7 separate regions of the Homo sapiens genome follow, and all the other regions are linked to region 4. Evidence: promoter capture Hi-C in 16 types of primary human blood cells and fetal thymus (Javierre and others, 2016). All regions are on one chromosome and are shown on one strand. Each heading gives the region's core, a stretch centred on a gene start or on the middle of the fragment in contact. The rest is flanking DNA. Distances are from core to core; before and after follow the strand shown.

Region 1 (3,642 bases), core at 171-2,670, 260 kb after region 4:
CATTATATGAGCCTTTTGCTAGGTATATCTAAGCAACTGCTTCAGTTAATGGCCACTTTACAAATTGCTGAAAGAAGGAAACGTCTTTCGATTCTTTTTTTTTTCTTTTTTTTTTTTTGAGACAGAGTCTCTGTCTGTTACTCAGGCTGTAGTGCAGTGGCACAATGATAGCTCCCTCCAGCCTCAAACTCCTGGGCTCAAGCATTCCTTCTGCATCAGCCTCCTGACTAGCTGGAACTCAGGCTCATGCCACCAGACCTGGCTAATTTTTCTGTTTTCAGTAGAGAAAATATTTTCTTTCACTAATTTAACTGGTATGGTTTCCATTGTCTACCCAGTTTTCCATATGCATAAGAAAATATATTCACAGGAAAATATAAAGTTTTCAGATTTCATGAGTGGTTTTAAGAAAGTTTTAGTCAGTGAAAAAACTATCATACCAGTCTTCAAAGGAAGGGTGAAATAAGTTCATCTGCTACGTTGCCCAGGCTGGTCTTGAAGGGAAACAGACTTTTTTGTAGTCATACTTATCCTTTGGCTTCTTAGTAAGTATTATATAGTCATTACTTTTTGCAGTTTTTTAGATCAAAGTGTTAATGTAGGTAAAGTTAATTTTAGAATATATGTAAAAGTCAAGTCTGCTTTAAATTTAATCATCTCTTTGGTGAAAGGGATGGGATGGAGCTTTGCTTTTTATCATATATTCATCTGTACCTTTCAAGTATTCAAATAGAAAAATATAAACAATGTAAATAAAATAGCAAAACAATGTAATATCTCATAAAACTGCAATGGTAAAAGCATTTATCCTATTGAAATTCCACAATTTTTATTTGAAAATATTATCGACATGTAATTCAAGTGGCATTTAGAAGAATAATTTAAAAGCAACAACTCTATAGAAAGCTTGTAAAATGATTAAGTAGTTTAAACCAAATAAAACAATTTCTGAGTCAGTCATCTCCAGTAGGTCTATTTTAGTCTCAAGATAAATTCATTTCTGGTGACAACTGAAGTTCTTAGTTATTTGTTAGTATATATTGGAGACATTTACAATAAAGCTTAGAGCACAATGGGAAATGAAAGTATCATGTTTTTTTTAAGACCAAATGTATTGCAGAAATGTGAGTAATTTAATCCGATGCTACAATCTGATCATTCTGATCTAATCTGATCATTTAATAACACTAAATAAAACCTTCATCTCACATTCTTTGGCTGTTTCTTTTAAAATATGGGTTTACGGATAAATCAAATAAATTCAAAACAAAGTAATAAGCAAATGATTTTTTTTTCTCAGTAATCTAGTAGAGTATTACATTTAGAAGTAATCTGTATCTCAGTGCAGTAACTATTTAGGACTGTAAGCGCCGCTGTTCACCTACTGGAAGACAAATGCAACCGAAAACACTCAGATCTCACACCTCACGAAGACCCGCAGATGCCACAAACTAACTGCTGGACTGCAGCGAAACCCGACCCCTGTTTGGAGGCACTCCAGGTTTCCGGAGGATTGTCATCTCCATAGCTGCGGCAAGAAACTAAATAAGACCCATTTATGCACAGTGAAGATTCTGAGAGGATTCTGCAGCAAAACAACAATGGCCGCTCCACAGAGTCGCCCCAGACGCGGCGAGCTGATCCTGCTGTGCGCGCTGCTGGGAACGCTGTGGGAAATCGGGAGGGGACAGATTCGCTACTCTGTGCCAGAAGAGACGGACAAAGGCTCCTTCGTGGGTAATATCTCCAAGGACCTGGGGCTGGACCCCCGGAAGCTGGCGAAGCACGGAGTCCGTATCGTCTCCAGAGGTAGGACGCAGCTCTTTGCTCTGAACCCGCGCAGCGGCAGCTTGATCACCGCGGGCAGGATAGATCGGGAGGAGCTCTGCGCTCAGAGCCCGCGGTGTCTGATAAATATTAACACCCTGGTTGAGGATAAAGGAAAACTCTTTGGGGTAGAAATAGAAATAATTGATATTAACGATAATAACCCAAAATTCCAGGTCGAAGATCTAGAAGTAAAAATTAACGAAATCGCGGTTCCTGGAGCACGTTATCCACTCCCAGAAGCTGTTGACCCGGATGTGGGCGTGAACTCCCTCCAGAGCTACCAGCTCAGCCCCAATCACCACTTCTCCCTGGACGTGCAGACTGGAGACAATGGAGCCATAAACCCAGAGCTGGTGCTGGAGCGCGCCCTGGACAGGGAGGAAGAGGCTGCTCACCACCTGGTCCTCACGGCCTCGGATGGCGGCAAGCCGCCTCGCTCTAGCACAGTGCGCATCCACGTGACAGTGTTGGATACAAATGACAATGCCCCGGTTTTTCCTCACCCGATTTACCGAGTGAAAGTCCTTGAGAACATGCCCCCAGGCACGCGGCTGCTTACTGTAACAGCCAGCGACCCGGATGAGGGAATCAACGGAAAAGTGGCATACAAATTCCGGAAAATTAATGAAAAACAAACTCCGTTATTCCAGCTTAATGAAAATACTGGGGAAATATCAATAGCAAAAAGTCTAGATTATGAAGAATGTTCATTTTATGAAATGGAAATACAAGCCGAAGATGTGGGGGCACTTCTGGGGAGGACCAAATTGCTCATTTCGGTGGAAGATGTAAATGACAATAGACCAGAAGTGATCATTACGTCTTTGTTTAGCCCAGTGTTAGAAAATTCTCTTCCCGGGACAGTAATTGCCTTCTTGAGTGTGCATGACCAAGACTCTGGAAAGAATGGTCAAGTTGTCTGTTACACACGTGATAATTTACCTTTTAAATTAGAAAAGTCAATAGGTAATTATTATAGATTAGTGACAAGGAAATATTTGGACCGAGAAAATGTCTCTATCTACAATATCACAGTGATGGCCTCAGATCTAGGAACACCACCTCTGTCCACTGAAACTCAAATCGCTCTGCACGTGGCAGACATTAACGACAACCCTCCTACTTTCCCTCATGCCTCCTACTCAGCGTATATCCTAGAGAACAACCTGAGAGGAGCCTCCATCTTTTCCTTGACTGCACACGACCCCGACAGCCAGGAGAATGCCCAGGTCACTTACTCTGTGACCGAGGACACGCTGCAGGGGGCGCCCCTGTCCTCGTATATCTCCATCAACTCTGACACCGGTGTCCTGTATGCGCTGCAATCTTTCGACTATGAGCAGATCCGAGACCTGCAGCTACTGGTAACAGCCAGCGACAGCGGGGACCCGCCCCTCAGCAGCAACATGTCACTGAGCCTGTTCGTGCTGGACCAGAATGACAACGCGCCCGAGATCCTGTACCCCGCCCTCCCCACAGACGGTTCCACTGGCGTGGAGCTGGCGCCCCGCTCCGCAGAGCGTGGCTACCTGGTGACCAAGGTGGTGGCGGTGGACAGAGACTCGGGCCAGAACGCCTGGCTGTCCTACCGCCTGCTCAAGGCCAGCGAGCCGGGACTCTTCTCGGTGGGTCTGCACACGGGCGAGGTGCGCACGGCGCGAGCCCTGCTGGACAGAGATGCGCTCAAGCAGAGCCTCGTGGTGGCCGTCCAGGACCATGGCCAGCCCCCTCTCTCCGCCACTGTCACGCTCACCGTAGCCGTGGCTGACAGCATCCCCGAAGTCCTGACCGAGTTGGGCAGTCTGAAGCCTT
Region 2 (3,788 bases), core at 303-2,802, 420 kb after region 4:
TTGGCTCACCACAACCTCCGCCTCCCGGGTTCAAGCAATTCTCCTGCCTCAGCCTCCCGAGTAGCTGGAATTACAGGCATGCGCCACCAGGCGGCCCGGCTAATTTTTGTATTTTTAGTAGAGACGAGGTTTCGCCATATTGGCCAGGCTGGTCTCAAACTCCCAACCTCACGTGATCCGCCCGCCTCGGCCTCCCAAAGTGCTGGGATTACAGGCGTGAGTCACCGCGCCTGGCAGAGATCTTTTTAAAAGAAATTAAGTCTATAAATAAATTGCAAAATAAAAAATAAAAAAGAGCATAAGAGAGAACCTATAGAGACATCAACCAACTGCAATGTGTAGACTTTATTTGGCTCTGATTCAAATGAACTATTAAAAAAAACAACTATCATAAGATAATTTGGGAAATTTAATACTAACTGGCTATCTGATGATAAAGAATTTTTTAAATGTGATAATGGTAGTAATTATCTTCTTTTAAAAGTCCTAATTTTTTTGACACACATTCTGAACTGCTTAAGGATTAAATAATATGAACAAGGATACATGTAAAAATAATGGGTGGCAAAGACAAAGTTGATACAGGTATATGAAACAAGACTAGCTGTTGATTAAGTTTTTTAAATGGGTGATGGACATAGGGGTGTTCATACTAGTCTCTTTACATATATGTGTGTATGTGTGCGTGCATTTTTTTCACGGTTTCAAAAATAACATTTTTTAAAAAAATTCAGGACCATTTCCCTAGAGTCCTTGGGGCATTTGATTCTTCCCAGACAGCTAAGTGAAAGGGGTTCCTTTTTTTCTTCTTTTTTTGGGGGTATCTTTTCTTATCTGATCCTATAATTAAGAAAACTGCCCTAAACATCTCTGTAGCAAAAACACCTAAACCCAGGATTAGAGTCTAGATGAGGCAGAGGGGATGCCCTGGCCTGCTGCCTCAAAAGCTAGCACTCTGTCACTGTTAGTAGGTGTCCGGCAGCCAAACCATTTTGCTCTGTGCTCCGCTGGCAAGGACTTGCGGCATCGATTGCTCAGGATGCAGGCAGCCTGCAGCAAGGTGTGTCCCTGATGAGCAACTGCTGAGTAAAAGAGTACGTAGCTGCGCCTCAGCCAGTCTCCCTCCCTCTGCAAACCAGACTCCTCCTTTGCCTAACTCCTTTTTTTATTCCTGCGTCACAAATACAAAATGGAGTTAGCTGGGAGCAAAAACAATCTGTCTAAAATGGCTGAATGCGGTGGGGAGTGCCAGACAGTAAAGCGAAGGGAAAGGGCACCCCCTGGCGGCCAAGATAGGGAGTCTGTTTTATGTTCTTCACTACTTTTGCATTTCAAACGAATCAGTCCTACAGAGTCCAAGTTAATTTTGTCACAAATCTTGATGTTGAGCTCTAAAATTCAACTAATAGAAACTGAGGCACAAGAAGGGAAAATAATTTTCAGTCTCTAAAGACAAAGGGCACAAGTCAACAGCCCTGAGTTGCAGTTACTGCTTGGTTATGATCAGTAATAGTTTCTAGGAGACAACAGAACGGAAGGGAGGTCCTTTTATAGTACATGATTCCCCAGCTTCAATAATGGACTAATGACCCCCGGAATCCCACCGCTATAGCCTGCACTTCCCCAGGAATTCCTGTTTAAGGCGTCTCTCAATGAAGACCACAAACAGGAAATGGAGGAGTGGGGAGTTGCCTGACATCCTGGAAACTACGTTCTTAAAGAACTGCAGGTGGGAGTAAGTGGGATAGAAAAATGGGCTTTTCAAAAACTGTTGAGAACACGGACTGAGTCAGTTGTATCCGCACGGCTGGAAGACAGGCAGCTCCACCTAACCTCACTCACTTACTCAGGACCAAAACCCTACTTGCTCTGCCCAAGATAAAGCCTGCAGCATTTGTACCTATTCTACAGGGAACACCCTCCATTATCTTTATCTTACGCTACACCTCCCTTGAGTAAGCCAAGTACCTATGACTAAAAAAGAACATGTAAGAAAGGTGGAAAAAACAGAAATTATCTGGAAAAACTTGTGGGTACAAGTCATTAATGGTTGCCACTACTTAAATGAGGCTGCACAAATACGCCAGTTTATCCAACGTCCCTAAAGTGAGATAATGGCAACACATACAACACAGGTGCACAAAAATCACAAGTTGTTAAAAAAAAAAAAAAAAAGACTCTGGCATCACTATAGTTTTCTCTGAAGAAATAGGGTCTTTGTGGAAGAATCTTAGATCTCTCAGGCATATATGAAAGATCAGAACACTTAATAATCTCTCCAGGAAATAACTTTCTGTGAGGGTAACATAGCTATGGAATTGCCAAGTTCACCTAGCATACAATAAGCCATGTCTATTAAGCACTACATCAACTCTCTAATTCTGGGAAGAGGAGACAGTAAGAGGGTCTTAATGTTAATATAAGTGTTAATATAAGAAGCTGCCCAAATGGAGGACTTCTGATTTATATTCTTCATGGTTGTAATATACATAAGGGATAAATTCAGCACTTTAAAACAATCACTAAGGTATACATTATAGAAGGAAAAAATATCATGCCAACCGAATAGCAGTTATCCCTGCCCAAAGGTAACCGTATCACTGATACCTTGGCCAAAATATACAACTATCTGCAAAATCCCACAGAACTAGACCATTACAGATGTGCAAGCTGTAAGGAGGGACAGGGCAAACTGGCATTAATGAACAAACCTAAAGGACAAGAACAAAGCCACACAGAATCCCAAAGGAAGAACCAGATGCTGAGAGTTATAAAGAAGGGGACAGATATAAGTCTGGAAGGGTAGCAGAAAAGCAGTATTAAAAATCTGGGCACTTCACCAAGCATTTGGTCTTTCAGATAATATAGTCATTGAGTTTCCCACAGATACTTTCCCAGCACACCCAGGATGGTGACTCAATTAGGGAGTGCTAAAAAGAGGTCTGCTTCTAGGATGTGGGTGGGGAAGGACTGGAAGGACAGGCACTATCCCAAACAAGGACTCAGGTATGTCAGCAAAGAGGACAGGTTTATGCAAGGAAACAATAGGCTAGAGGGCAGAAGAAAAGGCATTAAAATAAGGTACTAGAAATAAAACTCTTTTCCTGGATTAAAAAATGTTTTATTATGGGAAAAATTAAACATTCAAAAACACAATTATTAATCCCCATGCATACATCACTCAGTTTCAACAGTTATCCACTCGTGACCAATTCTGTTTCATCTACACCCCACTTCTAAATCCCATAATGATCCGCAATTATTTCTGTACACATCTCTAAAAGATGATGACTTTTTAAAAAATGCCATGAAACCATTATCACACTAATTTCCAGCTGTCTCAACTGTCAAGTGTTTTGTATAGTTCATTTGGATCAAGATCTAAATAAGTTCCATATACTGTACTGGTTGATAAAATTTAAAATTCCCTCTTAATCTATATGTTCCTCTCCATCTCATTTTTTCCCCTGAAATTTATTTGTTGAAGAAATCAGGACACTAATCACTGGTAAAAATCAAGAAGCACTAGCACAGTTACTTTACACTGTCAGTCACTGGAAGCAAGCACCTGAGGTTTCTCTCAACATGCCTGCATTCTTGCCACTCCCTTTCACTAAGTGCTGGATTTGAGCCCAATATATCTAGGCTCAAATTCTGGCTTGGTGTTTACTTGCTATAAAATCTTAACAAGCAAAGGACATATTAATTCTCTTTTATATCTCTCAATTATAAAACAAAGATAATACCAATTAGGCATTATGGAAATAATGTTTTGATAATTGGAAATA
Region 3 (4,231 bases), core at 1,306-3,805, 280 kb after region 4:
AGTGAGGGGACTTTGCCTTATTCTTATAATCTGTGCATTGCACATACGGGTACAAAAGAGTTTAATTTCCTAAAATGCAGTGTGCCCCTACATTCCAATGAAGACATGGTTTGCAGTGTTTCTCCTGGAGCCTTAATTCCACCTCATGGTGGGGAGGATTTGACTTCACATCCTGAGACTCTGACTTCGGTGAGTTTCTCTTTTTTGTGTGTGATTTATCTAATAGTCTACTAGTTTCTCATATTTTAGGCATACTACTTTATTTTCATATCTAGAATCATATGTTTAAAATCCATAGCTTTTTACAATATTTTCTCAATGTTTTTTCAATTATAGTTTTCACTATGTATTTGGTTCATAAGTTGCTCTATCTTTTTGTAAAATAATGTCACCAGACTGAAGATATTTTGTCTTTGTCTTTTTTTTTTTTTTTTTTTTTTGAGATGGAGTCTCGCACTGTTGCCTAGGCTGGAGTGCAGTGGCGTGATCTCTGCTCACTGCAACCTCCGCCTTCTGGGTTCAAGCGATTCTCCTGCCTCAGCCTCCCAAGTAGCTGGGATTACTGGTGCCCCTCACCACAGCTAAATTTTTTGTATTTTTAGTAGACATGGGGTTTCACTATGTCGACCAGGCTGTTCAGAAACTCCTGTCCTCGTGATCCTCCCACCTTGGCCTCTCAAAGTGCTGGGATTACAGGCGTGAGCCACAATATTTTGTCAAGTTCTGACTATCGAACAGAAGCAGTGGTCTTGGCATCTAAGAAAACAAACAAGTAACCTATCTATTCAAATTTGCGAAGACTTAGTGAATTTACGATATCTTATTTATATATTTTTAAAGCCTAAAAATATTCAGAAGACAGGCCCAGTGGCTCACACCTATAATCACAGCACTTTGATAGGCTGAATCGGAAAGTATCACTTGAGCCCAAGAATTGAGACCAGCCTGGGCAATATAGGGAGACCCCCCATCTCTACTAAAACAACAACAACAAAAAAAAACATTAGCAGAGTGTGGTAGCATTCCCCTGTGGTCCCAGCTACTTGGGAGGCTGAGCTGGGTGGATTGCTTGGTCCTGGGAGGTCAAGGTTGCAGTGAGCCCTGATCTTGCCACTGCACTCCAGCCTGGGCGACAGAGTGCGACCCTGTCTCTAAAATAAATAAATAAATATGCAGGCAGGGCCAAGTGTGCTGTAATCCCAGCACTTTGGGAGGTGGAGGTGGAGAATCTCTTGAGCGCAGGAATTTGAGACCAGCCTGGGCAACACAGGGAGACTCCATCGCTACAGAACATTTAAAAATTAGCAGGGTGTGGTGGCACATGCCTGTGGTCTCAGCTACTCTGGTGGCTGTGGTGGGAGAATCGCTTGAGCCCAGGAAGTCTAGGCTGCAGTGAGCTGTCTAGGTGACAGAGTGAGACCCTGTCTCAAAAAAAAAAGACATTTCTAAGAAATAAATGAAATACTATTGCCTTTGCACTCAGTCTCTGTCTCTGATTCTCTGATAGAAGATTTTTGAAGAAAAAAGATAAAATCTTTGAAGAGTTCTATACTTGGAAGGCATAGTGACATAAACACTTCTGAACATCCTGTTCTCTGTGTGAAAGAAGTGAACTTCTATACCCTTTGCATTTGAGGGAACAATTGCTACTGGGTTGATGGGCACACACAGTTGAAGATATGTGAACCACTGGACTTTGGCCTCTGATACAAACTGCCTAAGAGAAGAGATTATTTATACTGGTATTAATGCTCTGATGAAAACAGGTCATTTGACATAAACACTTACTTGTTAAAAACCTATATCACTACATCTAACTTTGTTTTCTAAAACTTTTAGTACTTCAAATTCTACGTATTTCTTTTCTCATTACAATGCAAACAGTTTAATTTGCAACTGTAATATATGTTCATTTTAGTTTGTGATTACCTGCTTAATCATTTAAATAGGTCCATTTAACTTGTATCCCTGTAAGATAAAGTATGTTTTACACAAAAAGGTTAATTAAGGCTCAGTAAAACTATTCTAGAAGAGTACTTTAAAAACCTCTTACACAATCCTAAGCTAAATAAGTTTAATGAATTAAGTAGTTACAATTATAAAGCTTCAGAGTGAATTATCTCATGAGTTTATTTAATATAATCTTTGTATGAATGTATACTAAATAAAATTGGCCTATTCAAATCACAATTTTAAATTATAAGACTTTTCTGAATTTACCTAGACACTAATATGACCTAAAATAAGTATTATTTACCTTTTATTAAAGTGTGTACATTTCTGTTGGGAAAACGTGTTGCAAATATATATTTAACCAAACATTATCTTGAAATATTTACAATATTTTCACTCCACTTTATCACACCTCCCCTAAGAAACCTACATATAGTAAATTATTTAAAGATAGGAGTGGAGAAACCAAAGAATCTATGTAAAATATAATAATCCAACAGAATAGTTTACTTTCCATTGCATGTATCACTTGGGTGCAGTAACTTCTTAGGACTCTGAGCGCCGCTGTTCACCTACTAGGAGAGAAAACGCAGCCAGAGCTCAATCCGGATTCTCAGGGCTTCAACTACACAAGCCCCACAAACCGGCTGCTGGGCTGCAGGGAAGCTCACTCCAGAATTTAAAGTGCCCAGGCTACAGAGACACCCTGAAGCCACAGAAAGACAAAGGAACCGGTTGAAACACACAACGTGTCCAGTGAGGACTTTGCAGAATTCTGTAACCAGACTACAATGGCCGCTCAAAGGAATCGCTCAAAGGAATCAAAGGATTGCAGCGGGCTGGTCCTGCTCTGCCTTTTCTTCGGGATTCCATGGGAGGCTGGAGCCCGGCAGATCTCCTACTCAATTCCTGAGGAATTAGAGAAAGGCTCTTTCGTGGGCAACATCTCCAAGGACTTGGGTCTGGCGCCCCGGGAGCTGGCGGAGCGCGGAGTCCGCATAGTCTCCAGAGGTAGGACGCAGCTTTTCTCTCTGAACCCGCGCAGCGGCAGCTTGATCACCGCGGGCAGGATAGACCGGGAGGAGCTCTGCGCTCAGAGCGCGCGGTGCGTGGTGAGTTTTAATATCCTTGTGGAAGACAGGGTGAAACTTTTTGGGATAGAAATAGAAGTAACTGATATCAATGACAATGCTCCAAAATTCCAAGCAGAAAATCTAGACGTAAAAATTAATGAAAATGTCGCTGCGGGAATGCGTTTTCCTCTCCCGGAAGCTATTGATCCGGATGTGGGCGTGAACTCCCTGCAGAGCTATCAGCTCAGCCCCAATAAGCACTTCTCCCTAAGAGTTCAGAGCCGTGCCAATGGCGTCAAGTACCCGGAGCTGGTACTGGAGCACTCCCTAGATCGCGAGGAAGAGGCCATTCACCACCTGGTCCTCACCGCCTCCGACGGGGGTGACCCTCTCCGATCTGGCACTGTCCTTGTCAGTGTGACTGTCTTCGATGCAAATGACAACGCGCCGGTCTTCACCTTGCCAGAATACCGAGTGAGTGTTCCTGAGAATTTGCCTGTGGGCACTCAGCTGCTGACAGTCACAGCCACCGACAGGGACGAAGGTGCCAATGGAGAAGTGACATATTCATTCCGAAAATTACCTGACACGCAATTGTTGAAGTTCCAACTAAACAAATATACTGGAGAAATAAAAATATCAGAAAATCTAGATTATGAAGAAACCGGTTTCTATGAAATAGAAATACAAGCAGAAGATGGAGGAGCATATCTTGCAACTGCAAAAGTGTTGATTACAGTAGAAGATGTAAATGACAACAGTCCAGAGCTGACCATCACGTCTCTATTTAGTCCAGTGACTGAAGATTCACCTCTGGGAACAGTCGTAGCCCTTTTAAATGTGCATGATTTAGACTCTGAGCAGAATGGACAGGTAACCTGTTCCATTTTGGCGTATCTACCATTTAAATTAGAAAAGTCCATTGACAGTTATTACAGATTGGTGATACACAGAGCCCTTGACAGGGAACAGGTATCCTCTTACAATATCACAGTGACAGCCACAGATGGGGGAAGTCCTCCTCTATCAACGGAAGCTCACTTTATGCTACAAGTGGCAGATATCAATGACAACCCACCTACCTTCTCTCAAGTCTCCTACTTTACCTATATCCCAGAGAACAACGCCAGGGGTGCCTCCATCTTCTCAGTGACAGCGCTGGACCCGGACAGCAAAGAGAATGCCCAGATTATTTACTCCCTGGC
Region 4 (3,763 bases), core at 108-2,607:
AAAAAATGCTAATCATACATGAAACTTATTGACAAATCTGACTAAAGGTAAGAAATTTTATTCATCAAAGACACATAATAGACTTGAAATAAAAACCATAGAGTGGGAAAAGATATTTGCAATACATATATCTTAAAAAGGACTTATGCCCAGAATATATGAGAAACTTCTGCAGATCAATAAGCAAACAGGCAAATGCCTCCCCCCAAAAAAGTAAAAAGGTTTGCATAAGCCCTTCACAAGATTGTATCCTAATGGCTGATAAACATGAAAATGTGCTCAAATTGTTTAATCATCAGGGAAAATGCTAACTAAAATTACAATATCATATCACCATACACTAACCAGAGTGGTTTAAAATGGAAAAGATAGCATCAAATGTTGACAAGAATGTGGAGCAACTGGAACTCTCATACTTTGCTGGTATTAGTACGACTACTTGAGAAAACTTTCTCATTATCTGCTAAAGCAAAATATATGTGCACATCTTAATGCATAGCAATCCAACTCCTTTGAATATATTCAACATAAACACATATATGTGGTCACCAAAAGACTAGTACAAGGATGTTTATACCAGTACTACCCCAAAGAGCTTAAACCTGGAAAACAATGTTCATCAACTGGAGAATGAATAAATAAATCATAGTATATTCATACAACAGAATGATATAAAGCAATGAGAATAAAACAAATAAGAACAAGATGCCACAGATCAATTTGCTGAACATAATATTGAGGAGAAGAAGCCAGACACACGAGAGTAACAATCTATAACTCCATTTGTATAAAGTTAAAAAAAAAAAAAGCAAAAAAAACCTATGACAACAGAAGTCAGGACAGTGCTTATCTTTTGGGGAGAGGGTGGTAACCAGACAATAGCAGGTGGGGACTTGGGTTTGGGTAGTATTTTTAATCTAGGTTCTACTTACAGGAGTGTGTTCACTTTGCGAAAATTCATTGAGTTATACACCTATGATTTGTGCCATTTTCTGGGTGTTATTGGTGTTTACTTCAAAGTGAAAGTAATTTTTCTTAAACTTTAAATTTCTATAGATATTCCTGATCACTTATTTAATATAATCAAATAAGAAACACCAAACAAAGTGTATTTGTGTACTCAAGGGTACTTTTATGGAGATTAATATATAATTTTAGTTTTTTTCTCAAAAGTATTTTCTCACTGAAAATTAACTCCACAACATTTATTTAGAACTTTCAGCAACTAAGAGCTGGAGATACCATCGGGAGAGCTTATGTGACAAAAGGGTATGGATACACGTCAGTTAGAATTTAGGATGAAATGGCAAATACTATATGCAATAGTAAATTAGGACGCCTGGTGGCGCTGCAGGCTAAGAGTGTGGATAGTGGGCTCTGCGGATAACTCAGACGCCATTAAGCTGGGGAATCCAAACTCTAAAAGAAGGACGCATTTTAGGTAAGATCTAGTGGCTAGATCTTCAGGGTGGGCTTCGTTCTTGTGGAAATCAGTCAAGAAAGATCGGATTCGCGGTTATTTATGCAAATCATCTGGGTGGATTGTGTACGGAGTTAAACTGCGCCTTCTGGACCGGGTCTGAACAATGGAGACTGCGCTAGCAAAAACGCCACAGAAAAGGCAAGTTATGTTTCTTGCTATATTGTTGCTTTTGTGGGAGGCTGGCTCTGAGGCAGTTAGGTATTCCATACCAGAAGAAACAGAAAGTGGCTATTCTGTGGCCAACCTGGCAAAAGACCTGGGTCTTGGGGTGGGGGAACTGGCCACTCGGGGCGCGCGAATGCATTACAAAGGAAACAAAGAGCTCTTGCAGCTTGATATAAAGACCGGCAATTTGCTTCTATATGAAAAACTAGACCGGGAGGTGATGTGCGGGGCGACAGAACCCTGTATATTGCATTTCCAGCTCTTACTAGAAAATCCAGTGCAGTTTTTTCAAACTGATCTGCAGCTCACAGATATAAATGACCATGCCCCAGAGTTCCCAGAGAAGGAAATGCTCCTAAAAATCCCAGAGAGCACCCAGCCAGGGACTGTGTTTCCCTTAAAAATAGCCCAGGACTTTGACATAGGTAGCAACACTGTTCAGAACTACACAATCAGCCCAAATTCACACTTTCATGTTGCTACGCATAATCGCGGAGATGGCAGAAAATACCCAGAGCTGGTGCTGGACAAAGCGCTGGACCGGGAGGAGCGGCCTGAGCTCAGCTTAACACTCACTGCACTGGACGGTGGGGCTCCGCCCAGGTCCGGGACCACCACAATTCGCATTGTCGTCTTGGATAATAATGACAACGCCCCCGAATTTTTACAATCATTCTATGAGGTACAGGTGCCCGAGAACAGCCCCCTTAACTCCTTAGTTGTCGTTGTCTCCGCTCGAGATTTAGATGCAGGAGCATATGGGAGTGTAGCCTATGCTCTATTCCAAGGCGATGAAGTTACTCAACCATTTGTAATAGACGAGAAAACAGCAGAAATTCGCCTGAAAAGGGCATTGGATTTCGAGGCAACTCCATATTATAACGTGGAAATTGTAGCCACAGATGGTGGGGGCCTTTCAGGAAAATGCACTGTGGCTATAGAAGTGGTGGATGTGAATGACAACGCCCCTGAACTCACCATGTCTACGCTCTCCAGCCCTACCCCAGAAAATGCCCCGGAAACTGTAGTTGCCGTTTTCAGTGTTTCTGATCCAGACTCCGGGGACAACGGTAGGATGATTTGCTCCATCCAGAATGATCTCCCCTTTCTTTTGAAGCCCACATTAAAAAACTTTTACACCCTAGTGACACAGAGAACACTGGACAGAGAGAGCCAAGCCGAGTACAACATCACCATCACTGTCACCGACATGGGGACACCCAGGCTGAAAACCGAGCACAACATAACGGTCCTGGTCTCCGACGTCAATGACAACGCCCCCGCCTTCACCCAAACCTCCTACACCCTGTTCGTCCGAGAGAACAACAGCCCCGCCCTGCACATCGGCAGTGTCAGCGCCACAGACAGAGACTCAGGCACCAACGCCCAGGTCACCTACTCGCTGCTGCCGCCCCAGAACCCACACCTGCGCCTCGCCTCCCTGGTCTCCATCAACGCGGACAACGGCCACCTGTTTGCCCTCAGGTCGCTGGACTACGAGGCCCTGCAGGCGTTCGAGTTCCGCGTGGGAGCCACAGACCGCGGCTCCCCGGCGCTGAGCAGCGAGGCGCTGGTGCGCGTGCTGGTGCTGGACGCCAACGACAACTCGCCCTTCGTGCTGTATCCGCTGCAGAACGGCTCGGCGCCTTGCACCGAGCTGGTGCCCCGGGCGGCCGAGCCGGGCTACCTGGTGACCAAGGTGGTGGCGGTGGACGGTGACTCGGGCCAGAACGCCTGGCTGTCGTACCAGCTGCTCAAGGCCACGGAGCCCGGGCTGTTCAGCATGTGGGCGCACAATGGCGAGGTGCGCACCGCCAGGCTGCTGAGCGAGCGCGACGCGGCCAAGCACAGGCTGGTGGTGCTGGTCAAGGACAATGGCGAGCCTCCGCGCTCGGCCACCGCCACGCTGCACGTGCTCCTGGTGGACGGCTTCTCCCAGCCCTACCTGCCGCTGCCGGAGGCGGCCCCGGCCCAGGCCCAGGCCGACTCGCTCACTGTCTACCTGGTGGTGGCATTGGCCTCGGTGTCGTCGCTCTTCCTCTTTTCGGTGCTCCTGTTCGTGGCAGTGCGGCTGTGCAGGAGGAGCAGGGCGGCCCCGGTCGGTCGCTGCTCGGT
Region 5 (4,041 bases), core at 1,452-3,951, 290 kb before region 4:
TTTGTTATTCAGTTCCTTGGCATTATATGTATGCATGATAAATGTGAATTCTACTTTATAGATTTATTTGTATCAAGTAAGTTAATAGTTATAAATTATTAATAATAAACTCTGGCAAGTGATAGGTACATAATAAAATTTAGTTATTACCATTCTTAAGAGAAAAGAAGTTAGTGATTGCAGAAAGGCAACCTAAAATGTCAGAAAGTCGTTATGGCCTTCCATATTAATCTTATTTTTGTGTAAAACTATCTTCTGTAAAGTCATTTTTTAGATTAACCTAGGATGTTTCAATATTTTGAATGTTGTGTGGTGGAATGAAAAAAATCTAAAAGTTATTACGAGTTTAGGAAAGTCAAGTTAACACCACCTATGTGGGAAAACAGTTTTTTGGAAAGGTTAAAGTCCTTCCAAGGAATGTGTAGACTATCTTACTTTGATAGTTGTATGTTTCCCATATTTAAAAGTTGCCTGAGATCCTGCAGAGGCCTGAGTAGGCGTTTGAGTTCTTTGTATGTATGAGATCTTTCCATTAATAGTATTTTTCTTAAAAAGAAGTATACAATAATGTTTTGATGATGATTTAAAGTCAATTTATGTTGTAGTTCTATGAATTAAGTAAACCATTTATGTAGAGTGTTGTAAATAGCCTTTTAAAGTGCTTTCTCTTTTTTCTTTTCTTTTCTTTCTTTCTTTTTTTTTTTTTTTTTTTGAGACGGAGTCTCGCTCTATCTCCCAGGCTGGAATGCAGTGGCGCAATCTCGGCTCACTGCAACCTCTGCCTCCCGGGTTCAAATGATTCTCCTTCCTCAGCCTCCCAAGTAGCTGGGATTACAGGTGCATGCCACCATGCCCTGCTAATTTTTTGTATTTTTAGTAGAGTCGGGGTTTCACCATGTTAGCCAGGATGGTCTCGATCTCCTGACCTCCTGATCCGCCCACTTCGGCCTCCTAAAGTGCTGGGATTACAGGCATGAGCCACCGCGCCCAGCCTAAAATGCTTTCTTAGCAAGTAGAGAAGATTGTAATAACCAGTCTTCATTAAACATTAAATAGGACCCTTACAGATCTCTAACAGCATATCATCATGTCAGGAATTATTACTGAGCCCCAGCCCCTGGCTTTAAAATTTGAGGTCAAATAAAGAATATGAGTCACACAATGCAAGGCAAGATAATGTAACAGGTACAAGAGGTAAATCAGAATGACGTTGAAGTTGAAAGACAATCATTTCCTATTTGAATTTTTGAAGAAATACTTGAAGGGGCATGGTGTGTTTCAGTGGTTTTAAAATAAGTAAGTTCCCCCCGGGAGAATATTGAGAATGATAGACATTTCTTGGAAAGAGAAAACATAAGGAAAGTTGAAGACACAGAAAGCATCAATATGACAAGTAGAAAAGTCCACTTTGGTTAAAACACACAGTCTGCAGAGAATGAAAGCAGGAAAACCAATGTAAGAAGATCTCTTGATTTCTGAGTAATAAACTAAAGGGCCATGAGTGATTAAGGAATTTGGCCACTCTTTAGAATTAATTGGGAGCTATTTAACTACCTTGAGCAAAATAAATCACGACTTTTGAAAGAAGGTTGAACGGGAAGACAAACTCAGAAGCTCCTGCAGTAATCAAGGACAGAAGCAATTGTTAAATGCACCTCTTAGGCTGTTATCAGTAGAAATACGAAATAAAAGATAAATATGCAAAAACATTAATGGCACAATAAACACTCACGGTTTTGCCTTTAGACTTGAGATACACTAAAATCTAGATTTAATTAATCGACTTGGACGTTGGAATAAGATAGTAAAACTCACAACAAAACTTTGTAGAACTTAGTCAGGAAAAGAATCTCAAGCATAGCTTTAAAAACAGAAATTGCCCCGAGTACTAAGGATGAGCAATAATGAAATTAAAACATATTGTAATAACATTACACAAACTATATTGGAGACTACAAAGAAGAGATTATTCATAGATTATAAAGCTTGGAAAGAATCAAAACAACACATTTCTGGAAACAGATTGTATAAATGCTACAAAAGAGAAAAATATATTTTCTCCCCACGCAACACAAGACCTTAAAGTCAATTCTCGCTTTTCTTGCAATATTTTATACCTTTTCAATTCATAGAATTACTCAAGAAAACTACCTCAGTTGGTTGCTACTTTTTGTTGATTCCTTTTACCAGACATGACTAAGTTTCTTTTTCATCAGTAGATTTCTGGGCTCCTATATTCACTAGAGATTGCAACTCCTGGATTTCTCTTACACTAGAATCCTATTTCGAGCCATATGGGAGATTCTGAATTCCAGAACAAAAGAATTTTGTAATTTAAAATTCGTGATTGCTCAATGGAATCATTTTAATTGTTACTTCATTTCTGTCGTTATTTAAAACTTAAGTGGAGAGTTTTCTCAGGGATAAGAAAACCACAATCAAGGTCATACAAAACTTTTAGAGGCAGTCAGTCTGCTAAGAAGGCTCCAGCAAGAGAAACGGGATCTTCTGTTTCAACAATCATTACTTAAGAAAAAATTAAGAAAATGAAATAAGTTTTGCAGAATAACTGTGAAATTTTTATTCATGAAATATGTACTTACACTTTGGGCCACGTGATGTCACTCTTTGCCGCGATGTTCTCTCTGAATCCAGACAAATACAGCCCTTTTCCCATGGGAAAGAGGCTCAATTCTTTTTCACTCTCTCTGTGCTGAACGATGGCGAACACAGCAGAATGGGACTGACGAAATCAGATGATTTCTTCTAATTTGGAGGCAATTTTCACTAATTAGAAGAAGACTGAGTATTTGAAATGTTATACTCAAGTCGAGGAGATCCAGAGGGTCAGCCTCTACTGCTCTCGCTTCTGATCCTCGCAATGTGGGTGGTGGGGAGCGGCCAGCTCCACTACTCCGTCCCGGAGGAAGCCGAACACGGCACCTTCGTGGGCCGCATCGCGCAGGACCTGGGGCTGGAGCTGGCGGAGCTGGTGCCGCGCCTGTTCCAGTTGGATTCCAAAGGCCGCGGGGACCTTCTGGAGGTAAATCTGCAGAATGGCATTTTGTTTGTGAATTCTCGGATCGACCGCGAGGAGCTGTGCGGGCGGAGCGCGGAGTGCAGCATCCACCTGGAGGTGATCGTAGACAGGCCGCTGCAGGTTTTCCATGTGGACGTGGAGGTGAAGGACATTAACGACAACCCTCCAGTGTTCCCAGCGACACAAAAGAATCTGTTCATCGCGGAATCCAGGCCGCTTGACTCTCGGTTTCCACTAGAGGGCGCGTCCGATGCAGATATCGGGGAGAACGCCCTGCTCACTTACAGACTGAGCCCCAATGAGTATTTCTTCCTGGACGTGCCAACCAGCAACCAGCAGGTAAAACCTCTTGGACTTGTATTACGGAAACTTTTAGACAGAGAAGAAACTCCGGAGCTTCATTTATTGCTCACGGCCACCGATGGAGGCAAACCCGAGCTGACTGGCACCGTTCAATTACTCATCACGGTACTGGACAACAATGACAATGCCCCAGTGTTCGACAGAACCCTGTATACGGTGAAATTACCAGAAAACGTTTCTATCGGAACGCTGGTGATTCACCCCAATGCCTCAGATTTAGACGAAGGCTTGAATGGGGATATTATTTACTCCTTCTCCAGTGATGTTTCTCCAGATATAAAATCCAAGTTCCACATGGACCCCTTAAGTGGGGCAATCACAGTGATAGGACATATGGATTTTGAAGAAAGTAGAGCACACAAGATCCCAGTCGAGGCTGTCGATAAAGGCTTCCCACCCCTGGCTGGTCATTGTACACTTCTTGTGGAAGTTGTGGATGTAAATGACAATGCTCCACAGTTGACTATCAAAACGCTCTCGGTTCCTGTAAAAGAGGACGCACAACTGGGGACAGTTATTGCCCTGATTAGTGTGATCGACCTAGACGCAGATGCCAACGGGCAGGTTACCTGCTCCCTGACGCCCCACGTCCCCTTCAAGCTGGTGTCCACCTACAAGAATTACTACTCGTTGGTGCT
Region 6 (3,814 bases), core at 17-2,516, 310 kb before region 4:
GAATTTCCTCTGACTTTGCATTTTCTGGTAATTTCTTTTTTCTTATCAAGCTATATTTTAAATGTAAAAGTATCCAACAATAGAATTGCTAATCTCTTGGTCCCTCTTGTCTTCACAGGTAAGGGATATTTTGTAATATTTAAGGAATTTTATGGAGTATATATACAAGCAGAATGTTAGCTATTTCTTCAATAGAAAACTTGGTGATATTTTCTTTTGCCCATATTTATTAAGTGAAGTTTACTAAATTTTCTAGGTCGTGTTCAAATCATACCATCCAGTAAACAGTTGGGAGATTAAAAAGTAATTAAACTAATATAAAGATAGCCTGGTTAATAAAATGATATTCTTTTCAACATGATTATATTTACTGGAACCTAAACATTTTGTGAAATAGTATGTCATATAGACAATATTAGGATTTTGACTTGTTATGTAAGTACAAAGGTATGTATTTTACAATTTTTAATAATTGCTTTATCAGTAATAGCAACTTGAAGAAATGCTATCTAGATGCTTCTAATTTGAAAATAGTGCAAAGACGATTTACCAAAGTCGTTCTATTATGCTTTTGATTTCTAGAAAGCTGAAATATCCCCATTACAGTTTTTGAGTCAATACAAAAAGTAGATAGGTGTTATAGATAAAGAAATAGGTTTTCATCGATTTGAAAATTAGAACTCCGAGAAGAAACTCAGGTAAGAATGCCATTAAAATAGTTTTAGTTGTTTTTGAAAATAACATCAACAAAATGTCACTATTAAACAGTGAAATTGGAATAAAAATTTGTTTTATGAGTAACACGGAGATAGCATACAAACATTCCATTGACTAATACAGAAAAAACTCAAAAGTTTTAATTAGATATGTTTAAATAGAGATGAGAAAAGTCAAAACTTTAACTCTTAAAAGTTATTTTTATCAGTTTGGAAATATATAAACTCCTCCCTATATAAAATACACCAGCACAAATTTCTCTAGTAAGGATTGGGGTTTCATGACTTTAGATGTATTTTTCTGTAATATTTTAATGACGCACTTATATTGACGCATTTTAAGATAGAGTTTAATGATATATTTTGACTAGAGATAAGTGATTTAAAGAATAAGAATCATGTCATTGAAAGTGAGAATACTTGAGAAATATTGACGAATATAAGCTAAATAAAGCAAAACAAAATAAAACACTTACCCTTTCATCCACATGATGTCGCTGGACACCGGAAGGTTTTTCTCCCTTCCCAGCCTCAAAGGAATACAGTGAGTAGATTTTCCTTAGACAGAAAGGAAAAGAACCTTCCATTTTTGGCTGTGCCAAGAAGCTCAGAAAGGCGATAATATAAAAAATATATAGTTAATTGGGAATTGAATTTACAAAATACATTGTGTGGTGATGCAATAGAAAGCTCATAATTGGAACGAGATTGAGATGGTATATTCCCGGAGAGGAAGTCTGGGATCCCGGCTCCTGCTGCTCTGGCTTCTCCTTGCCTACTGGAAGGCAGGGAGCGGCCAGCTCCACTACTCGATCCCGGAGGAAGCCAAACACGGAACCTTCGTTGGCCGCATCGCGCAGGACCTAGGGCTGGAGCTGGCGGAGCTGGTGCCGCGCCTGTTCCGGGTGGCGTCCAAGGGCCGCGGGGACCTTCTGGAGGTAAATCTGCAGAATGGCATTTTGTTTGTGAATTCTCGGATCGACCGGGAGGAGCTGTGCCGGCGGAGGGCGGAGTGCAGCATCCACCTGGAGGTGATCGTGGACAGGCCGCTGCAGGTTTTCCATGTGGAGGTGGCAGTGAAGGACATCAATGACAATCCGCCCAGGTTCTCCAGACAAGAACAAAGATTATTCATTTTAGAGTCAAGAATGCCAGATTCGCGGTTTCCGCTAGAGGGCGCGTCGGATTTGGATATTGGAGCAAATGCACAATTGAGATACAGGTTAAATCCAAACGAATATTTTGACTTAGATGTTAAAACAAATGAAGAAGAAACGAACTTTTTAGAGCTGGTTTTGAGGAAATCCTTAGATAGAGAAGAAACACAAGAACACCGTTTATTAGTGATTGCAACTGATGGAGGAAAACCCGAACTAACAGGTACAGTTCAGTTGTTGATCAATGTATTGGATGCTAATGATAACGCCCCAGAATTTGATAAATCCATTTATAATGTCAGATTGTTGGAAAATGCACCAAGTGGGACATTAGTTATTAAACTGAACGCCTCAGATGCAGATGAGGGCATCAATAAGGAAATAGTGTATTTCTTTAGTAATCTTGTTCTTGACGATGTAAAGTCCAAATTTATAATTAATTCTAATACTGGTGAAATAAAAGTTAACGGGGAACTGGATTATGAAGACTATAACTCATATGAAATTAATATTGATGCCATGGATAAAAGTACATTCCCATTATCAGGACACTGTAAAGTAGTAGTGAAACTCCTGGATGTGAATGATAATACCCCAGAGATGGCCATAACCACCCTTTTCCTGCCTGTCAAAGAGGACGCTCCACTCAGCACGGTCATTGCTCTGATCAGCGTGTCTGACCGTGACTCAGGTGCCAACGGGCAGGTGACCTGCTCCCTAATGCCCCACGTTCCCTTCAAGCTGGTGTCCACCTTCAAGAATTACTACTCGTTGGTGCTGGACAGCGCCCTGGACCGCGAGAGCGTGTCGGTCTATGAGCTGGTGGTGACCGCGCGGGACGGGGGCTCGCCTTCGCTGTGGGCCACCGCCAGCGTGTCTGTGGAAGTGGCCGACGTGAACGACAACGCTCCGGCGTTCGCGCAGCCCCAGTATACCGTGTTCGTGAAGGAGAACAACCCGCCAGGCTGCCACATCTTCACGGTGTCTGCACGGGACGCGGACGCGCAGGAGAACGCCCTGGTGTCCTACTCGCTGGTGGAGCGGCGGGTGGGCGAGCGCCCGCTGTCGAGTTACGTTTCGGTGCACGCGGAGAGCGGCAAGGTGTACGCGCTGCAGCCGCTGGACCACGAGGAAGTGGAGCTGCTGCAGTTCCAGGTGAGCGCGCGCGACGCGGGCGTGCCGCCTCTGGGCAGCAACGTGACGCTGCAGGTGTTCGTGCTGGACGAGAACGACAACGCGCCGGCGCTGCTGGTGCCTCGAGTGGGTGGCACCGGCGGCGCAGTGAGCGAGCTGGTGCCGAGGTCAGTGGGTGCGGGCCACGTGGTGGCGAAGGTGCGCGCAGTGGACCCTGATTCGGGCTACAACGCTTGGCTTTCGTATGAGCTGCAGCCAGCGCCTGGCAGTGCGCGCATCCCGTTCCGCGTGGGGCTGTACACAGGCGAGATCAGCACAACACGCTCTCTGGATGAGACCGAAGCACCGCGCCACCGCCTTCTGGTGCTGGTGAAGGACCATGGAGAGCCCCCGCTGACAGCCACAGCCACAGTGCTGGTGTCGCTGGTGGAAAGTGGCCAGGCGCCGAAGGCCTCATCGCGGGCGTCGGCGGGCGCTGTGGGTCCCGAGGCTGCCCTGGTGGATGTCAACGTGTACCTGATCATCGCCATCTGTGCGGTGTCCAGCCTGCTGGTGCTCACGCTGCTGCTGTACACCGCGCTGCGGTGCTCGGCGCAGCCCACCGAGGCCGTGTGCACACGGGGCAAGCCCACTCTGTTGTGCTCCAGCGCGGTGGGGAGCTGGTCGTACTCGCAGCAGAGGAGACAGAGGGTGTGCTCTGGGGAAGCTCCACCCAAAACAGACCTCATGGCCTTCAGTCCAAGCCTTCCTCAGGGTCCCACCTCTACAGACAACGTGAGTTTTCTAATATTAACATCCATCTTTCCC
Region 7 (3,905 bases), core at 349-2,848, 350 kb after region 4:
TGGCTGTACACCCTTGGCTTCTGCACCCACTCGGAGTGATAGCTTCATGATGGTGAAGTCACCCAGTGCACCTATGGCAGGGGAGCCTGTTCGCCCAAGCTGCCCACCCTCTGATCTTCTCTATGGGCTAGAGGTGAGACCTTTGCAGGCTCAACAAATGCTTGAGGGTTATTCTGATCCAGGCATATGGCTAGGCCATGTCCTAGAGAGTACTGGCCTCTCAGTAAGTGCCCATAGTGATGTCACCATTTTTGTAAGAGGTAACTATGTGGTAGACGCTGTGCTTTGTAACTGTTTCGTGAATTAACCAGAGTTGTCACAGTTTAGCATTGGGGGCGGGTCATGCCTATATCTGAGTAAGAAATGAAAGTAATTGGTGATCAAGAGCCAGGCTGTTGTGGAAGCATGATGATGGAATGTGGGAGCACAGGAGGCTACAGTGCACAGGGTACAGTGCACCAGGCAGTCACTTGGACAAAGGTGGCTGTTTTCTCTACTCTTCCTGAAAGAGGGGATCAGATTCTGAAGTACCTTAACTCTAGGTTACCATTTCCCAAGGGATTGAGGGGAAATAAAATCTTTGTCTCCCAGTATCTAGTACACTGTGAAGGGACCTCTCTATTTGAAACATAGAGACAGCAGAAAGAGGAGAGAACTAAAGGAATAGAGAGGCACGCATCAGAGTGGTGGCATAGATCTTTTGGTCTGGGTCTTAGGACTCATATCAAGTCCCTACTGGGGATTTGAACTAGATGCGGTAAATTGGAAGGTTGGGGCGGGTTGGTCATCACCTTTGGAAAAAACAGTAAGTGAAATCACTTATGTCAGAAAACTGGTTTACAGTTGGCTGATTCATAGAAACAGCCACCCTGTGCATCTTTAAGTTGAGTTCTCCTGAATTTGGTGAAACCATGAAACCTAGAAGCCAAGCCATCCATGCTTGGCCTCTGACCACCCTCCTGGGTGACCTGATTCAGCCCCAGAAATGTTCCCCTACCCAAAAACTGTAACACTCATTCCACATTTGGGGTCTGGGGTGTCAGAAAAGCTAAGTCCCATGTCAGCTGACATTGAGATTTCCGCAAAGCATTGCTGGAGAGTCAGGGCAAGACTTTACAAGGTTCTTACTAATCTTTTCTCTCACCTTAGCAGCATTCAGCAGGATGGGGGAGGGTGGGGGAATACATGGGCTTTGCCTCTCCCAGAAGGACAAGATTTTGCTGGTTCAAGCAAAGTGGTGGAAGCTTCTGAAGTCATGCAGGAAGTTGCTGGGACAGAACGCTGAGGAGTTTTGTATCACTTTGTCTTCCCTGTTGAGTACCATCTGAGCTGTCAAACTTTGCTGCCAAGGGGGCTGAATCAACCTGCAGCACGAAGTGAGTGGGGAGGTAGGAAGCTTCTGTGACACAGATTTGCAGCCTGTGTTCCCAAGGTTTCCAGGATTGAGGAAACTCCATAATTGGTTGAGAGCACACAGACTTTTTGGCCAATCAGACTCAGAGCTGAGGTGGGAGATCTGCTCTTCCAGCCCGCCTCTCCTCCTCCAGCTCCCCAGCTCCACTCAAATTCAGCTCCCCTCCCCCCTGCCCACCCCCGCCACTCGGTGACTAAGAACTGCTGCAAGCAGGCAAACCTCCGAGCAGTTTTTAAGAGGCTGGAAGGAGACATAAGAGACTTCAGCTGCTGCATTCCAAGCCCTGGGTCTACCTTGGAGACAGGACAGCACAGACTTACTCTCCACAAAGGGACTTCTGGGTCATGGGGCCCAAGACACTCCCACAGCTCGCTGGGAAATGGCAAGTGCTGTGCATGTTGTCCTTGTGCTGCTGGGGCTGGGTGTCTGGGCAGCTTCGTTACTCAGTGGTGGAGGAGTCTGAGCCGGGGACGCTGGTGGGGAATGTTGCTCAGGATCTGGGCTTAAAGATGACAGATCTGTTGAGCCGGCGGCTGCAATTGGGCTCTGAGGAGAATGGGCGCTATTTTTCCCTGAGCTTGATGAGTGGTGCCCTGGCAGTGAATCAAAAGATTGACCGAGAAAGCCTATGTGGAGCCAGCACCAGCTGCCTGCTGCCAGTGCAGGTGGTGACTGAACACCCCCTGGAGCTAATCCGTGTAGAGGTAGAGATCCTGGATCTCAATGACAACTCTCCTAGCTTTGCCACCCCTGAGCGAGAGATGCGCATCTCAGAATCAGCAGCATCTGGGGCACGATTCCCACTGGACAGTGCCCAGGATCCGGATGTGGGCACCAATACTGTGAGCTTTTACACTCTAAGCCCCAACAGCCACTTCTCTCTGAATGTGAAGACCCTAAAAGATGGGAAGCCATTCCCAGAGCTGGTGCTAGAGCAGCAGCTGGATCGTGAAGCCCAGGCAAGACATCAGCTGGTGCTTACTGCTGTGGATGGGGGGACCCCAGCCCGCTCAGGGACCACCCTTATCTCTGTCATCGTGCTGGACATCAATGATAATGCTCCAACCTTCCAATCCTCAGTTCTACGTGTGGGAATCCCAGAGAATGCACCCATTGGTACTCTGCTGCTCCGCCTCAATGCCACTGATCCAGACGAGGGCACCAACGGCCAACTAGACTATTCTTTTGGAGACCACACATCTGAGGCAGTGCGGAACCTCTTTGGCCTAGACCCTAGCAGTGGGGCAATCCATGTGTTGGGTCCCATAGACTTTGAGGAGTCACGTTTCTATGAAATTCATGCAAGAGCCCGTGACCAGGGACAGCCTGCCATGGAGGGCCACTGTGTGATTCAAGTGGATGTGGGGGATGTCAATGACAATGCCCCAGAGGTGCTATTGGCCTCTTTGGCCAACCCTGTCCTAGAGAGCACACCAGTGGGCACAGTAGTGGGGTTGTTTAATGTGCGAGACCGGGACTCAGGTAGAAATGGTGAAGTGAGCCTTGATATCTCTCCGGACCTGCCATTTCAGATTAAGCCTTCTGAGAACCACTACTCGCTGCTAACCAGCCAGCCTTTGGACCGGGAGGCCACATCCCACTATATCATCGAGCTGCTGGCCAGCGATGCTGGTTCACCTTCCCTACACAAACATCTCACCATCAGGCTCAACATTTCAGATGTCAATGACAATGCACCCCGCTTCAACCAGCAGCTTTACACTGCTTACATCCTAGAAAACCGGCCTCCGGGCTCCCTTCTTTGCACTGTGGCTGCCTCAGATCCAGACACTGGGGATAATGCCCGCCTCACCTACTCCATTGTAGGAAATCAGGTTCAGGGAGCCCCAGCCTCCTCCTTTGTGTATGTCAACCCAGAGGATGGACGGATCTTTGCCCAGCGTACCTTTGACTATGAATTGCTGCAGATGCTGCAGATTGTGGTGGGGGTTCGAGACTCCGGCTCTCCCCCATTGCATGCCAACACATCTCTGCATGTGTTTGTCCTAGACGAGAATGATAATGCCCCAGCTGTGCTGCACCCACGGCCAGACTGGGAACACTCAGCCCCCCAGCGTCTCCCTCGCTCTGCTCCTCCTGGCTCCTTGGTCACCAAGGTGACAGCCGTGGATGCTGATGCAGGCCACAATGCGTGGCTCTCCTACTCACTGTTGCCACAGTCCACAGCCCCAGGACTGTTCCTCGTGTCTACACACACTGGTGAGGTGCGCACAGCCCGGGCCTTACTGGAGGATGACTCTGACACCCAGCAGGTGGTGGTCCTGGTGAGGGACAATGGTGACCCTTCACTCTCCTCCACAGCCACAGTGCTGCTGGTTCTGGAGGATGAGGACCCTGAGGAAATGCCCAAATCCAGTGACTTCCTCATACACCCTCCTGAGCGTTCAGACCTTACCCTTTACCTCATTGTGGCTCTAGCGACCGTCAGTCTCTTATCCCTAGTCACCTTCACCTTTCTGTCAGCGAAGTG

What was found. The method cuts DNA at HindIII sites, captures the fragments that hold promoters and counts their contacts. A CHiCAGO score of 5 or more calls a contact.
Region 1: a contact is called between the fragment with the promoter of PCDHGA8 here and the fragment with the promoter of PCDHB5 in region 4, in 9 of 17 cell types (fetal thymus, activated CD4 T cells, naive CD8 T cells and 6 more). The highest score is 10.0, in fetal thymus.
Region 2: the fragment with the promoter of DIAPH1-AS1 here is called in contact with the fragment with the promoter of PCDHB5 in region 4 in 9 of 17 cell types (naive B cells, naive CD4 T cells, naive CD8 T cells and 6 more); the score reaches 9.6 in naive B cells.
Region 3: the fragment with the promoter of PCDHGA10 here is called in contact with the fragment with the promoter of PCDHB5 in region 4 in 12 of 17 cell types (naive CD8 T cells, fetal thymus, activated CD4 T cells and 9 more); the score reaches 12.9 in naive CD8 T cells.
Region 5: the fragment with the promoter of PCDHA9 here is called in contact with the fragment with the promoter of PCDHB5 in region 4 in 10 of 17 cell types (erythroblasts, neutrophils, M2 macrophages and 7 more); the score reaches 19.2 in erythroblasts.
Region 6: a contact is called between the fragment with the promoter of PCDHA5 here and the fragment with the promoter of PCDHB5 in region 4, in 13 of 17 cell types (M2 macrophages, erythroblasts, neutrophils and 10 more). The highest score is 13.2, in M2 macrophages.
Region 7: the fragment with the promoter of PCDHGC5 here is called in contact with the fragment with the promoter of PCDHB5 in region 4 in 5 of 17 cell types (fetal thymus, naive CD8 T cells, neutrophils and 2 more); the score reaches 7.6 in fetal thymus.

What each region holds. Positions count from the first base shown.
Region 1 is chr5:141,391,213-141,394,854 of GRCh38, forward strand. It overlaps PCDHGA8 (protocadherin gamma subfamily A, 8), which reads left to right and starts at 1,421. Exons shown (of 4, transcript NM_032088.2): 1 at 1,421-3,642. The coding sequence starts at 1,602. The region is part of intron 1 of PCDHGA1 (protocadherin gamma subfamily A, 1); the gene reads left to right. All of the region lies in intron 1 of PCDHGA2 (protocadherin gamma subfamily A, 2), which reads left to right. The region is part of intron 1 of PCDHGA3 (protocadherin gamma subfamily A, 3); the gene reads left to right. It also overlaps PCDHGB1, PCDHGA4, PCDHGB2, PCDHGA5, PCDHGB3 and PCDHGA6, and 3 more genes. The HindIII fragment of the contact is 13,870 bases long and covers 1,060-3,642 here.
Region 2 is chr5:141,556,759-141,560,546 of GRCh38, forward strand. DIAPH1-AS1 (DIAPH1 antisense RNA 1) reads left to right here and starts at 1,553. Exons shown (of 3, transcript NR_038333.1): 1 at 1,553-1,729. All of the region lies in intron 18 of DIAPH1 (diaphanous related formin 1), which reads right to left. RefSeq lists enhancers at 531-1,383, 1,144-1,438. The HindIII fragment of the contact is 6,603 bases long and covers 1-3,788 here.
Region 3 is chr5:141,410,432-141,414,662 of GRCh38, forward strand. It overlaps PCDHGA10 (protocadherin gamma subfamily A, 10), which reads left to right and starts at 2,556. Exons shown (of 4, transcript NM_018913.3): 1 at 2,556-4,231. The coding sequence starts at 2,745. The region is part of intron 1 of PCDHGA1 (protocadherin gamma subfamily A, 1); the gene reads left to right. All of the region lies in intron 1 of PCDHGA2 (protocadherin gamma subfamily A, 2), which reads left to right. The region is part of intron 1 of PCDHGA3 (protocadherin gamma subfamily A, 3); the gene reads left to right. It also overlaps PCDHGB1, PCDHGA4, PCDHGB2, PCDHGA5, PCDHGB3 and PCDHGA6, and 7 more genes. The HindIII fragment of the contact is 11,668 bases long and covers 2,103-4,231 here.
Region 4 is chr5:141,133,849-141,137,611 of GRCh38, forward strand. PCDHB5 (protocadherin beta 5) reads left to right here and starts at 1,358. Exons shown (of 1, transcript NM_015669.5): 1 at 1,358-3,763. The coding sequence starts at 1,587. It also overlaps PCDHB@. RefSeq lists enhancers at 3,056-3,589, 3,590-3,763. The HindIII fragment of the contact is 16,081 bases long and covers 1-3,763 here.
Region 5 is chr5:140,845,681-140,849,721 of GRCh38, forward strand. It overlaps PCDHA9 (protocadherin alpha 9), which reads left to right and starts at 2,702. Exons shown (of 4, transcript NM_031857.2): 1 at 2,702-4,041. The coding sequence starts at 2,816. The region is part of intron 1 of PCDHA1 (protocadherin alpha 1); the gene reads left to right. The region is part of intron 1 of PCDHA2 (protocadherin alpha 2); the gene reads left to right. All of the region lies in intron 1 of PCDHA3 (protocadherin alpha 3), which reads left to right. It also overlaps PCDHA4, PCDHA5, PCDHA6, PCDHA7, PCDHA8 and PCDHA@. The HindIII fragment of the contact is 21,410 bases long and covers 1,984-4,041 here.
Region 6 is chr5:140,820,347-140,824,160 of GRCh38, forward strand. It overlaps PCDHA5 (protocadherin alpha 5), which reads left to right and starts at 1,267. Exons shown (of 4, transcript NM_018908.3): 1 at 1,267-3,781. The coding sequence starts at 1,430. The region is part of intron 1 of PCDHA1 (protocadherin alpha 1); the gene reads left to right. The region is part of intron 1 of PCDHA2 (protocadherin alpha 2); the gene reads left to right. All of the region lies in intron 1 of PCDHA3 (protocadherin alpha 3), which reads left to right. It also overlaps PCDHA4 and PCDHA@. The HindIII fragment of the contact is 13,774 bases long and covers 1-3,814 here.
Region 7 is chr5:141,487,483-141,491,387 of GRCh38, forward strand. PCDHGC5 (protocadherin gamma subfamily C, 5) reads left to right here and starts at 1,599. Exons shown (of 4, transcript NM_018929.3): 1 at 1,599-3,905. The coding sequence starts at 1,759. All of the region lies in intron 1 of PCDHGA1 (protocadherin gamma subfamily A, 1), which reads left to right. All of the region lies in intron 1 of PCDHGA2 (protocadherin gamma subfamily A, 2), which reads left to right. The region is part of intron 1 of PCDHGA3 (protocadherin gamma subfamily A, 3); the gene reads left to right. It also overlaps PCDHGB1, PCDHGA4, PCDHGB2, PCDHGA5, PCDHGB3 and PCDHGA6, and 13 more genes. The HindIII fragment of the contact is 4,500 bases long and covers 1,395-3,905 here.